Linked DNA regions of Homo sapiens: region 2 is linked to region 1. Evidence: promoter capture Hi-C in human tissues and cell types (Jung and others, 2019). All regions are on one chromosome and are shown on one strand. The core of a region is centred on a gene start or on the middle of the fragment in contact, and the rest is flanking DNA. Distances in the headings are between cores, read along the strand shown. Region 1 holds the start of TRIM72 (tripartite motif containing 72). Region 2 holds the start of AHSP (alpha hemoglobin stabilizing protein).

What was found. The method cuts DNA at HindIII sites, captures the fragments that hold promoters and counts their contacts. A contact is called where the count stands out against the background at its distance.
Region 2: a fragment that was not itself captured here is called in contact with the fragment with the promoter of TRIM72 in region 1 in 1 of the 25 tissues and cell types used here (dorsolateral prefrontal cortex).

The regions. Positions count from the first base shown.
Region 1 is chr16:31,210,568-31,217,078 of GRCh38, forward strand. TRIM72 (tripartite motif containing 72) reads left to right here and starts at 3,552. Exons shown (of 7, transcript NM_001008274.4): 1 at 3,552-3,730; 2 at 4,165-4,561. The coding sequence starts at 4,172. PYDC1 (pyrin domain containing 1) reads right to left here. Exons shown (of 2, transcript NM_152901.4): 1 at 6,176-6,511; 2 at 5,395-5,590. The coding sequence starts at 6,461. The coding sequence ends at 6,192. RefSeq lists enhancers at 3,043-3,958, 3,959-4,873, 5,789-6,511. The HindIII fragment of the contact is 10,428 bases long and covers 1-6,511 here.
Region 2 is chr16:31,527,697-31,534,716 of GRCh38, forward strand. It overlaps AHSP (alpha hemoglobin stabilizing protein), which reads left to right and starts at 204. Exons shown (of 3, transcript NM_016633.4): 1 at 204-266; 2 at 440-518; 3 at 762-1,107. The coding sequence starts at 444. The coding sequence ends at 995. The HindIII fragment of the contact is 6,447 bases long and covers 864-7,020 here.

The DNA of each region.
Region 1 (6,511 bases), core at 2,302-4,801:
CTGAGGTGGGAGGATCACTTTAGCCTGGGAGGTCGAGGCTGTAGTGAGCTATGATTATAACATTGCACTCCAGCCTGGGCGACACAGTGAGACCTCAGAGACTTAAGGACAAAGAAGGTGGGGACACAAAACTCCCCTGGATTTCTCAGTGTGCCGGTAAAGAGCGCCAGCTTTGGCCGGGCGCAGTGGCTCATGCCTGTAATCCCAGCACTTTGGGAGGCCGAGGCAGGCGGATCACGAGGTCAGGAGATCGAGACCATCCTGGCCAACATGGTGAAACCCTGTCTCTACTAAAAATACAAAAAATTAGCCAGGCGTGGTGGCAGGCGCCTGTAGTCCCAGCTACTCGGGAGGCTGAGGCAGGAGAATGGCGTGAACCCAGGAGGGCGGAGCTTGCAGTGAGCCGAGATCTCATCACTGCATTCCAGCCTGGGCGACAAAGCGACACTCCGTCTCAAAAAAACAAAAAAACAAAAAAACAAAAAAAAAAAAAGGAAAAGAAAAAAAAAAGAGCACCAGCTTCCTGAGACTTTTCACATCTTAATTTCAGAATTTTATCTGCAGTCATTTATACAGGTAATTGCTCTTATCCAAAAGAATAATAGAACTTTTTTTCCTCCTAAAAGAACCAAATGTTTACAGCCTGAACGAGGGCCTAGGTTAAACAAGGTGTCAGGCAGCCTGAAGTAGCTACCTTCTTAAGCAGGCCAGCAGAAGTTCATGCTGTCACCACATAACATGCAAGAAGGAATGAGCGGTCGGGTGTGGTGGCTCATGCCTGGAATCCCAGCACTTTGGGAGGCCGAGGCGGGTGGATCACCTGAGGTCAGGAGTTCGAGACCAGCCTGGACAACATGGTGAAACCCCGTCTCTACTAAAAATACAAAAATTAGCTGGGCGTGGTGGCACGTGCCTATAATCCCAGCTACTCGGGAGGCTGAGGCAGGAGAATCGCTTGAACCTGGGAAGTGGAGGTTGCAGTAAGCCGAGATTGTACCACTGCACTCCAGCCTGGGCGACAGAGCAAGACTCCATTTCAAAAAAAAAAAAAAAAAGAAAAAGAAAAAATTAAGAACCTAAGAGACAGGCAAAGGGAGAGTCCAAAGGGGAGATTAAGAGAGTGAAACAGAAACAAAAATTCATTCTGAGAGAGACAGCAGTTGAGAGAGGAAAGAGTAAAACCAGGAAAAGGTTTGAGGGAAGCTAAGAGAAAGATGGAGAGGCCAAATGAGAGGGACTGAGTTTGCGTGTTTATTCATTCACCTAGTATCTGTAGAGCGCCTAATGTGTGTCACACACTTTAGTCTAAGCTGGAGACAAGCAGTAAACACAATTTCTATTCCGTAGGAAGAGACAGACAAGAAACCAGCAAACAAGTAGAATACATTGCATGTCAGATGCTGATAAATGTTATGGAGAAAAGGAAAGCCAGGCAGTGAGATGTTGGGGAGTTAGGAGATTTAAAATCAGGGAATTGGGAGAGGTCTTGCTGGAAAGGTAATATTGAGCAAAGTCTGAGGGAGGAAAAAGAGGATGCCATGCAGTACCTGGGTTGGAGAGTGTTCCAGGCAGAGGGGACCGTAAGTGCAAAGTCCCTGATGCCGAGTGATCAATGGGGAAAGGGGTGATAAAAGAGTCAGAGTGATTAATGGGGTCATAGCAGATAGGGCTTTGTAAGCCACAGTTAGCACTTTGGTTTTTATTCTAGATGAAATTTCTTTCTTTTCTTTTTTTTAATATTTATTGTTTTTTTTGAGACGGAGTTTTGCTCTTGTTGCCCATGCTGGAGTGCAATGGCATGATCTTGGCTCACTGCAACCTCTGCTTCCCAGGTTCAAGCAATCCTCCCATCTCAGCCTCCCGAGCAGCTGGGACTACAGGTGTTCTTCACCATGCCCAGCTATTTTTTTTGAGTTGGAGTTTCGCTCTTGTCACCCAGGCTGGAGTCCAGTGGTGCGATCTCGGTTCACTGCAACCTCTGCCTCCCGGGTTCAAGCGATTCTCCTGCCTCAGCCTCCCAAGTAGCTGGGATTACAGGTACCTGCCACCACACCCGGCTGAGTTTTGTATGTTTCATAGAGACGAAGTTTAACCATGTTGGCCAGGCTGGTCTCAAACTCCTGACCTCAAGTGATCCACCCGCCTGGGCCCCCCAAAGTGCTGGGATTACAGGTGTGAGCCATTGTGCCTGGCCCTTGCCAACTTTTTAATGGGGTTGTTTTCTGCTTGTTGAAATGTTTAGTTTCTTTATATATTCTGGATAGTAGATCTTTGTTGGATGCATAGTTTGTGAATATTTTCTTCCATTCTTTTTTTTTGAGACGGAGTCTCACTCTGTACCCCAGGCTGGAGTGCAGTGGCGCGATCTCGGCTCACTGCAAGCTCCGTCTCCCGGGTTCACACCATTCTCCTGCCTCAGCCTCCTGAGTAGCTGGGATTACAGGTGCCCGCCACTGCGCCCGGCTAATTTTTTGTATTTTTAGTAGAGACGGGGTTTCACTGTGGTCTCGATCTCCTGACCTCATGATCCACCCGCCTTGGCCTCCCAAGAGTGCTGGGATTACAGGCGTGAGCCACCGCGCCTGGCCTTTCTTCCATTCTTCAGTTGTCTGTCTGTTGATAGTTGCTTTTGCTTTTGCTGTGCAGAAGCTCTTTAGTTTAATGAGGTCCCACTTAACAATTTTTGTTTTTGTTGCTTTTGAGGACTTAGTCAAGAATTCTTTACCAAGGCTGATATCCAGAATAGTATTTCTCCTGCGGTTTCTTCTATGATTTTTATGGTTTGAAGTCTTACATTTAAATCTTTAACCCATCTTGAGTTAATTTTTTTTATATGGTGAAAGGTAGGGGTCCAGTTTCATTCTCTTGCATAAGGCTAGCCAGTTATCCCAGCGCCACTTAAATGAAATTTCAGCTGAGATTTGAAAGATACACATACAGGAACCAGGGCAGAATTGAGTTCTGGGCTGCAGGCTCTGGATTCAGTTCATTCATTTGTTCAATGTCTCTCTATCATTCATTCTCCAAGCATTTAGAGAGGCCTACTTTGTCCCAGGCTTGTCCTGGGTGTACTAGAGAGACCAAAGTGGAAAAGACCCTCCCCTCAGCTCTGGAGGAAGAAAACATTTCAGGGTGGGGTGAGGTCCTGCCCTCCTGCAGGTGGGGTAATCCTGCCAGGGTGACCTTGGTCAGCCATAAACTTGGGGAATGAGTGGGTGACAGGCTGGGGAGGGGCTGCCAGCAAGGAGGAAGGAGCTGGAGAGTGTGGAGGTGGGAGTGGGGGGAGAAAGGGCAGACCCCCTTCAATTTTCTGTCTTTTCTGTGGTGTGAAAGGCCCTGGCTCCCCGCTGGCTCTGAGCTCTGACTCCAGGCAGGCCGGGGAGAGAACAGTGGATGGGCCAAGACAGGTGGCCCTGTCATGTGATGTGTGCCCAGGGACTACTCAGCCCTCACTTTTAGAACGGTTTCCGGAAGTGATGGGAGGGATTGGGCAGGGCAGCTAAATATAGTCCTGGGGCCATGGCTCAGTCTGGGAGGGTCTTCCGCTGAGCACTGTGTGCCCATCACGCGTGGTGTCCACTGCCAGCTGCCCCTGTGAGTCCCTGTCCTTGCTTGGAGCCTGCTGCTTGTCTCAGATCCTTGGACCCAGCCCTGACCCCAGTCCAGCTAAGCTCAACCCTGACCGGTCCTCCTTCGAGACTCTTTCAGCCTAAGATCTCCAACCAGACCTGTGAGTCCCGTGGGCTGGAGAGAGGGGGAGGGGAGGTCTGGGTATCTTGGTAAAGTGAGGGAGGGGAGTCTCGGAGTGGGGGCTCTGGAGAATTTGGGTCCGGGACTAAGGTCAGAGGCTGAGGCCTGGGGCTAAGGCGAGGGCAAGGACAGTGGGCTAGAATCTGGGCTTGTGTTCAGGAACTGGGGTTGACTGATAGGGCATATTTTTGGGGTTGGAGCTGAGAATTGCAGTGGAGGCTGCTTTTGGGCCTGAGACCGAGTTCCTCTTTCCCCTTGGCCGTCAGAGTCCCATCCAGTGTAGGATGTGAGGTCTTTACAGGCTGGGGCTTCTCCCTGCGGGGCGGCGGGCCCGGCCTGGGCTAGGGCTGGGCCAGGGCTGGGCCGGGAGCGCGGCGCCGCGGGGTCCCCCTAACCTACTCCTCCTCCACCCAGGCCCGCCATGTCGGCTGCGCCCGGCCTCCTGCACCAGGAGCTGTCCTGCCCGCTGTGCCTGCAGCTGTTCGACGCGCCCGTGACAGCCGAGTGCGGCCACAGTTTCTGCCGCGCCTGCCTAGGCCGCGTGGCCGGGGAGCCGGCGGCGGATGGCACCGTTCTCTGCCCCTGCTGCCAGGCCCCCACGCGGCCGCAGGCACTCAGCACCAACCTGCAGCTGGCGCGCCTGGTGGAGGGGCTGGCCCAGGTGCCGCAGGGCCACTGCGAGGAGCACCTGGACCCGCTGAGCATCTACTGCGAGCAGGACCGCGCGCTGGTGTGCGGAGTGTGCGCCTCACTCGGCTCGCACCGCGGTCATCGCCTCCTGCCTGCCGCCGAGGCCCACGCACGCCTCAAGGTGCGGGATCCGCGCGCATCGTGGTCGGAGGGGCTGTTCGGTGGCACGGGGCCGATGGGGAGGTCGCTGCAGTGATTTGGATTCTGAGTCTCTAGAGAGGCTCACGAGCTCCTGGAGTTGCGGGGGGCGGGGGCGGGGCGAAGCAGCCAGGAAAGAGGGTCTGAGGAGCTTAAGGCGGGGCTGGCAGAGGAAAGCCGCGCAGGGATGGAGCCTGGCGATAAGGGCGCTGAGCAAACGTAGGTTTCCCGGCCTTAGTCCCTAGAGGAAACTGGAGATGGGCGGGCGGAGCCCCAGGGCGGGTCTGATGGGCCGGGCGGAGCCAGGCGGAGCAGGGACTGACCAGCCCCTGCGGCCCACGCTCGCATTCCTGCACCCGGTGGGCCGTTCGGGCTGGCTCCCTGCTCGGCGCTGGCCCACTTTGGACTGGAGGCGCGGCGTTCGGGACCGAGCCAGGCGGCCGGGGCAGGGTTGTCCCCTTGTGCTCAGCGGAGGCCCACGCACCCCTGAAGCTGCGGAACTTGGGCTGGCCTGACGGTCCCCAGGCGGGGCCTCACCAGAAGGGAGACTGTAAGGGCTAGGCAGCCGGGATCTGCACTTATGTGTGCGGGCCCAGGGTGGCACCGAGAGCCCCGTCCAGGATGTTTTTCTGGGTGGAGCTGGAAGTCCCGAAAGCCTTGGGAGCCCACACGCAGTTGTGCGCGTCCCGAAGTACCCAGCAGAGACACCCAGACAGAGGCAAATAGAGACGAACGCACACTGGCTGGTGCGTGTCATCCGTGTGGCAAAAGCACACACGTATAGCTACCGGCGGGCACGTGTGCGCGCAGCCCCAGTAAAGTCTGCCATGAATATTTATTGGGCAGTGGAAGAATAAATGACAGGTGCAGGGGCTGGAGGAGGCGGGGTCTGGAGGCACGGAGGCGTCCTTGGTCCCCGAGGTGGAGACACTGCTGTTGTCTTACGCGACTGGTGCGCGCGTGGGGCTGGCTTCACAGGCGTTGCATTACTCCTTTTGCCTTGACCCGCCTCCTAGAAGGGGTAGACCACCGTCCTTTCGTTGGTATTCGAGGCCCCCAGACTTCCCAGGGACCCAGCCTCTCAGTCCTGCCTGGCCCAGTTCAGCCCAGTCCTAGCTGGTGGTCTCCTAGCTCAGGGCAGGAGCCTCCTCCCGGGACCCCTCCCATCCCAGCACACCTGTGCTTAAGACCCCAACCTCAGGGCAACCCGCTCGGATCCCCTTCCATGCTGTGGAAGCTTTGTTCTTTTGCTCTTTGCAATAAATCTTGCTGCCGCTAAAAAAAAAACAAAAAACAAACAAACAAAAAAAACCCAACCTCGCCCAACCTTGCCCGTCTTTATCTGCGAAGAAAGCACAGAACCCATGAAACGGAACAGGGCCCAGGCAGCCCAGGAGCCTGGAAGGGGGCAGTGGGGCGAGATGCAGCCCACCAGGGTTCGCGGCAGCCCAGCCCTTCGCCCCCGGGAGGGGCTGGCCGGAGGTCTGAGGGAGGACCCCAGGAGGGACCCTGAAGGAGGGGAACAGGAAGGCTCTGGGCGGGACCTGACGCGTGGGTCCTTGGCGAGGAAGCGGGGTTGGGTCCCGAGATCACGTACCAGCTCAGAGTGGCCCTCACGCAGCCCGCTGCAGCCGTGCGGCCTCCTCCAACATGCGCATGTCGCGCAGCACGGCCACGACGAGCTCGGCTGCGTAGTCCTCGTAGTAGGAGGCGACCAGCTTGTCGGTGAGGTCCACGATATCTAGCTGCCCGAGCGCGCCCCGCGGGATGCGCTCAAAGCCCTCGCGCAGCGGCACCGTCCCCAGCTTCATCTTGAACTTCTTGAGCTCCTCCGGTGTCAGGTTCTCCAGCACCTTCAGGATGGCCTCGCGCTTCGTTCCCATGGCTCAGCCCTGCGCCTCTGAGCCTCCGAGGGCCTGGAGCCATCAGGTCC
Region 2 (7,020 bases), core at 2,837-5,336, 320 kb after region 1:
GGCTCTTGCCTTCTTGCATTTCCTGGGTTTCCTCATTTATCTTTTTTTTTTTTTTTTTTGGCCTTGTTATCTTTCTACCTTCAGGGAAGCCTCTCCCTTCTTCTCCTCCCTAGAATGACCTATCACCCTCCTTCAGGACCTAGATGCAGGGCGTTTCTATCTTAGGCTGACACTTGACTCCTTGCCTACATCTATAGCTTGGCACAGAGAGATTCACGCACCCTCAAGAGTGTGGGTGAGACATATACAGCCTGTTAGACCTGAAGGTGAGCCCAACCTGGGAAAATCGTGACCTCAGAGCAGGGCAGGATGTGAAAGGTTTTGGAAAGGAGATAGCCCTGCAGGGCAGGAGGGATTTTTAAGGGGAGGAAGTGGGTTGGGGGAAATACCCAGTGAGGAGGGAAACAGATATGTAAATTCTACCCTTTTCTCTACCCAGGCAGATGGCTCTTCTTAAGGCCAATAAGGATCTCATTTCCGCAGGATTGAAGGAGTTCAGCGTTCTGCTGAATCAGCAGGTGAGTCCAAGCTTTCCATTTCAAAGGACTGGCCTGGAGACTGGGGGGTGCCGGGGAAGTGGAGGAAGAGGATAATTGGAGCTGGTGAAGTAATGGTGGAGTTGATGGAAACAACGAGAGACACGGGATACAATGCAGAGGAAAGAGAATGTGAGAGTTGGTGCTGTGGCACTATTCTAGTATTCCCGAATCCCATTGCTGACCACATTCTCCCTTGCCAACTGCCTCTCCGCAACCCCCCAGGTCTTCAATGATCCTCTCGTCTCTGAAGAAGACATGGTGACTGTGGTGGAGGACTGGATGAACTTCTACATCAACTATTACAGGCAGCAGGTGACAGGGGAGCCCCAAGAGCGAGACAAGGCTCTGCAGGAGCTTCGGCAAGAGCTGAACACTCTGGCCAACCCTTTCCTGGCCAAGTACAGGGACTTCCTGAAGTCTCATGAGCTCCCGAGTCACCCACCGCCCTCCTCCTAGCTCAGGGACCCAGCCCCTCCTCTCTGAGAAACTCTGACCTTCATGTCCTTAGGCTGTGCTCCTGCCACTCTACCCTGACACCTCAATAAAGACCAGTGCTGGTTTTGTTGGACTTCCTGGCTTCTCTTTCATGGTCTGTCCTGACATGTGGAGGCACTCGGTCCCTTTCCTTCCGCCCTCCTTCTTAGATATGCTCTTGGAAGCTTAATTCCTTACAGCAGAGGTTAGCAGCCTTGAGTGACCACCGGGCAGCGATTCTAAACTAAAACAGGCTGAACGAGGGCCAGGAAGGCGGGACTAGAGAGAGTGCAGAGCTGCAGGGGAGGGGGTGGCAGAAACAAGAAAGGGGGATAGAAGTCCTCCAGACATTGTCCTGTGACCTGCTTGTCGAGGAGGAAACTGTTGGAAGTCTCCCAGTCTTGTTCATCCTGCGCCAGGTCCACCGCCTCGACTTTTCAATCCCCTGTCCTTAGCCCCAGCTCAAACTACATTCTAGGATCTTCGGACTCTGACTACCGCAAAATACCTCCCCGGAGCCCCAGGCATCGCAGGAATTTAGAGTTGGAAGGGATCCTGGGAACCCTTTAGCGCGCCCCTTATATTTCAGGAGGGGAAGCCACTTCCCTTTGGCTCCAACATCCCTGGGCGCAGATGCCAGGATTGGGAAGCAGAGGAATCCGCCTTCCCCCCACCCCAAGCTTCTCAGATCAATTCCCGGTCTAGCTCCCTTTCTCCCAGACCTCCAGACTCGAAGCCTCTATTTTAGGGCTCTGGGCGGAACCAGGGACGGGCCAGACTCAAGAGCTTTTTAAAAACGAAATGAAGGTGTTAGACCCGCGGCGCAGTCTCCAGGAAAAGCCTCCACGCGCAGAGGGGAGGGCCCTCCGGGGGAGGGTGCGCGGGGCGGGGGCGCGCGGGGGGAGGGGGTTCCCGGGGTGCTGAGCGGGGGCGGGGGTGCGCGGGGCGGGGGCGCGGCTAGGAGGCGCCGCACAGCAATCAGACGCGGCTCAGGGTGCGCGCGGGGAGCTGGAGGGCGCAGTTCTGGACCTTTTCGGTGTTCTCTCTAACGCGGGAAAAGTTTGGGGCCCAGAGGGATTGCTCCTCGTTCCAACCTCCAGCAAGCTTTCCTCTGGGACTTGTGAACCGACTGTTGTTTTGTAGGTCTCTGCAGCCTGGATCAGGGTGGAAAGGGAACCCGCTCAGTGTCCCCAGCGGTGCTTCCAACCCTGGGGTGTGGTCGGCCCTAGATCCAGCTTGGGAGAGTGGCGCCTCCCAGGGAAGCAGGCGGCGAGCTCCTCTGGGTTGGGGTCGGTGGTCCAGGCAGAGTCTGGGGCCTTCTCCACGGCACCTCTCAGGAAATCTCAGTCTGTGAGTGAGGACCAGAGCCCGCTCAGGCGGGACAGTAGTCGGCAGCCTCACCTTTGCAAGAGAGACCTGGCCTGGTGTGTGTGGGTGGAGGAAAGTGAGTGGGGGACGCTAGGAGAGCGCACAGCACAACGCTCCGGTGCCTTATGCAGAATGGCGAAATGTTTGCATGTAACCCACGCACATCTCTTCGTGGACTTCACATCATGGCTAGATTACTTACAATACCGACTACAACGTCAATGCTGTGCAAATAGTTGTTACACTGTATTATTTAGGGAGTAACGACAAGAAAAAAAGCCTGTACATGTTCAGTACAGAGGCAACCATCCATTTTTCTCCCCAAATATTTTCCATCCTTGGTTGGTTGAATCCACAGATGCGGAACCCACAGATACGGAGGGACCACTGTATTTGTCTTTCAGCTTAGCTGAAAAGAATGTTAGAAGCCGCTTTGGCTCAATTCATGAAGAGGAATTTTCCATACCTTTATAACTATCCAGCTATGGGAGCTGCTGAGCTAAGCACTTCTCAGGTGCTCAAAGGAAAATGACCAATTACAGGTGTAAGGTAGAAAAGATTCTCACTGGGAAGTTCAACATTGAAACTCCATTCCGACCATTCCATAAGCTTGTGCAATTGAGAAGCTGCAAAAAATATTTTTAAGACAGAAAAATCTGTTACCTGCACTTTCTGCTCTCATATTACTATCAACGAAGTGACTGGTTATAAATCTACAAGAAGTAAAATTGGGGATATTTTGATTTTTCAGAGACGGTGATATGAACCTGATGGTTCATAATAATAAAAATAAAATAACTAAAGCAGAGAGTGCCCCAAATCCATTACTGTTCCTGAAGGAAAATAAATTAGAATTAGTAAGAATAACCTTCTTTTGCTTAGCAGTATCTGAATTAATACTAGAAATAAGATTGTAAATAAATGGTAAAACATTATAGCCATAACCCTGCCCTTATCCTCACCCTCATATTGAACCTGACCTAGAGCTGACCCTGAACTTGAGCCTCACCTCTAGCTTCATCTTGCCCCTGATCATAATGGACACCTTGCCCTCACAATGACCCTGACTCTCACACTGACATTGCCTCTCATTCTCATTCTTATACTGATCCTGATGCTGAATTGGACCCTAAACTTTACCTGATCCTAATTTTCACCCTGTCTCTGACCCTCAACCTGAATCCTACCCTGACCCTTACCCTGAAATTGACCTTCACTGACCCTTCCCTTAGCATGATGTTGACTCTGACCCTCACTATGACCCTGACCCTTGATCCTCAACTTGACCTAGACAGTGATCATAATTATGACTTTTTTTTTTTTTAAAGAGGCAGGGTCTTGCTCTGTCACCCAGGCTGTAGTGCAGTGGTGCCAGCATGGCTCACAGCAACTTTGACCTCCAGAGCTCAAGCGATCCTCCTACCTCAGCTTCCTGAGTAGCTGGGACCACAGGTGCATGCCACTATGCCTGGCTATTTTTTTTTGTATTTTTTGTAGAGATGGGGTCTCACTATGTTGTCCATGCTGGTCTTGAACCCCTGGCCTCAAGCAAGCCTCCCACCTTAGCCTCCCAAAGCACTGGGACTACAGGTGTGAGCCACTGCACCTGGCCTTTAACCATGACTCTTGACCCTGAAGCATACACTCTCACCTTGACTCTGACCTTGCTCTCGTTCTGACACCACCCCCTCCTTCACACCTGAGCCTTACCCTGGTGCTCACTCTCACCTTGCATCTGACTGTGACACTCACCAGACCCTGATCCTGACTGTCACTTACACACTCTATCTCGTTCTCACCCTGACCCTGATTCTGTACTTGACCCGGACCCTCACTTTTGCCTTCAGTTTTAGCATCACCCTTAATCCCAACCGAACATTGAAGCTAACCCTACAGTGGCACTCAACTTGACCCTCCCCTGGCCTGGAAATCTTAATGTCACCATAACCCTCATCATGACCATAAATCTGACCCTTACCTGACCCTGACTCTGCTGCTTACTTTCCACTGACCCTGACTTGACCCTTATGGTCTCCTTGATCCTGACCTCACCCTGACTCTATAAGGACCCTTATCCATACCTTCACCATGTCCTTGAACCTGCTGTGAATCTGAAACTTATGCTGAGCCTGAACTACACACTCAGCCTGACCCTGGCACTAAGTCTTTCTCACTCTGTGATGAACTCTGACCCTGAAACTGACTCTGACCCTCGCCCTGACCCAGGCTTTGAATGTTTGCCTCACACTCCTTATCCTCACTCTGACACTGACCCCCACTCTGATCCTCACGATGACTCTCAGCTGGACTTTGACCCTGGAACATGACCCTTACCCTCATCAAGACTCAGCAATTTGCTCACACCTGTAGTCCTGGCACTTTGGGAGGCTGAGTTGAGAGGATCACTTGAGGTCAGGCATTTGAGACTAGCCTGGGCAACACAGCAAGACACCCCACCCCCATCTGTACAACAAAATATTCACATTGCATTACAAATGTCTGCTACATCATTGTAGTAAATTCTTTCTTTTTACTCCTATTAGTAGCTGCAACACGTTCTTATGATAAAACTCTGTGCCCAATTCTGACCACTGGAACAAGCTGGACACATCTGGCTTCTTTTTTTTTTTTTTTTTTTTTTTTTTGAGACGGAGTCTTGCTCTGTCATCTAGGCTGGAGTGCAGTGGTGCGACCTCGGCTCACTGCAGCCTCCGCCTCCCAGGTTCAAGCGATTCTCCTGCCTCAGCATCCCAAGTAGCTGGGATTACAGGCACCCACCGCCATGCCTGTCTAATTTTGGTATTTTTAGTAGAGACAAGAGTTTCACCATGTTGGCCAGGCTGGTCTCAAACTCCTGACTTCAGGTGATCCGCCTGCCTCAGCCTCCCAAAGTGTTGGGATTACAGGCATAAGCCACCAAGCCCAGCCACTTCTGGCTTCTTACCAGGGCTGTGACTTGGTGAGACAAAAGAGGAATCAGTGGGAAATTTAAGGAAGCCCTCTCTCGCAGGCTCGTGAAAGTGCAGGGACAGCTCCTGAGAGTGAGGCCTCCTTAAATGTTGTGTCCTGCATGCCTCACTTGCCTTACTCTCCTCTAGGGCCTGCTTCTTGTAGCTCCTAAAGGGTTTTGCCTTCTGGATATTTTTCAGTTCTCCTGCAAATGCAGATGGGCGGCCCATGCCCACTAGTGTTCCAGGCACATCCCAACATGTCCAAGTCCACTTAGAATCCACTGGAATCCCCGATACATTTGTTTGATGCATTTATATATTAATAATGCAGTAGCTCATGCCTGTAATTACAGTACACTGGGAGGCCAAGTTGGGAGGATCACTTGAGTCCAAGAGTCCTAAGAGACCAGCCTGGGCAACATAGAGAAACCCTGTCTCTACAAAAAATACAAAAATTAGCCAGGTGTGGTGGTGCGTGCCTGTGGTCCCAGTGACATGGGAGGCTGAGGTGGGAGGATCACTTGAACCCAGGATTTTTTTTTTTTTTAGATGGAGTCTTGCTCTGTTGCCCAGGCTGGGGTGCAGTCGTGCAATCTCAGCTCACTGCAGCCTCTGCCTCCCAGGCTCAAGTGATTCTCCTGCCTCAGCCTCCCAAGTAGCTGGGACTGCAGGTGCGTACCACCATGCTGGGCTAAAGAGTCCAGGAGTTCTAAGACACCAGCCTGGGCAACACAGGGAAACCCTGTCTCTACAAAAAATACAAAAATTGGCTGGGCGCAGTGGCTCACACCTGTAATCTCAGCACTTTGGGAGGCTGAGGCGGGTGGATCACCAGTTCAGGAGATCGAGACCATCCTGGCCAACATAGTAAAACCCCGTCTCTAGTAAAAATACAAAAAAATTAGCTGGGTGTGGTGGCACGCACCTGTAGTCCCAGCTACTCTGCAGGCTGAGGCAGGAGAATTGCTTGAACCCGGGAGGCGGAGGTTGCGGTGAGCCGTGATCCTGCCACTGCATTCCAGCCTGGGAAACGGAGCGAGACTCCAGCTCAAAAAAAATATATATATATGTGTATATATATATTTTCAAGGTAAGTAATCTAGCTTCTGTAAGCCTCAGTTTCCTATTTTTGTATGTGTGAGGGAATAAACTACTTGATCTTTCTATAGCAAATGTCATGTTTTTGTGAAAGGTTTTCTGAAGGTAGATGAACCAAATTAAAAATTCTGTAGATGTCAGAGGCCCATTTGTCCATGAGCATCCCCTCTCCCAACCTTGAAAATTACTGTATTGATTGGATTTTCCATATAAAACTTCTATTGTAGCCTCCAGAGTTTGTGCACTCATGAGAATTAATTACATTTTTCATGAATTTTTTTTTTTACACTTTCTTCCCTCTTACAACTTAAGAGTTTTTACTGATACCATAAACAAAACAAAACAAACAGGAATGTCACATAATGGAGTTAGTGGCCAAAATTAAAATATAAAAGACTTTAGTGTATAAATTAGGCTGGGCACGGTGGCTCATGCCTGTAATCCCAGCACTTTGGGAGGCTGAGGCAGGTGGATCATCTGAGGTCAGGAGTTCAAGACCAGCCTGGCTAACATGGTGAAACCCTGTCTCTATTAAAAAAAAAACAAAAACAAAAATTAGCCAGGCTTGGTTGCAGGCACCTGTAATCCCA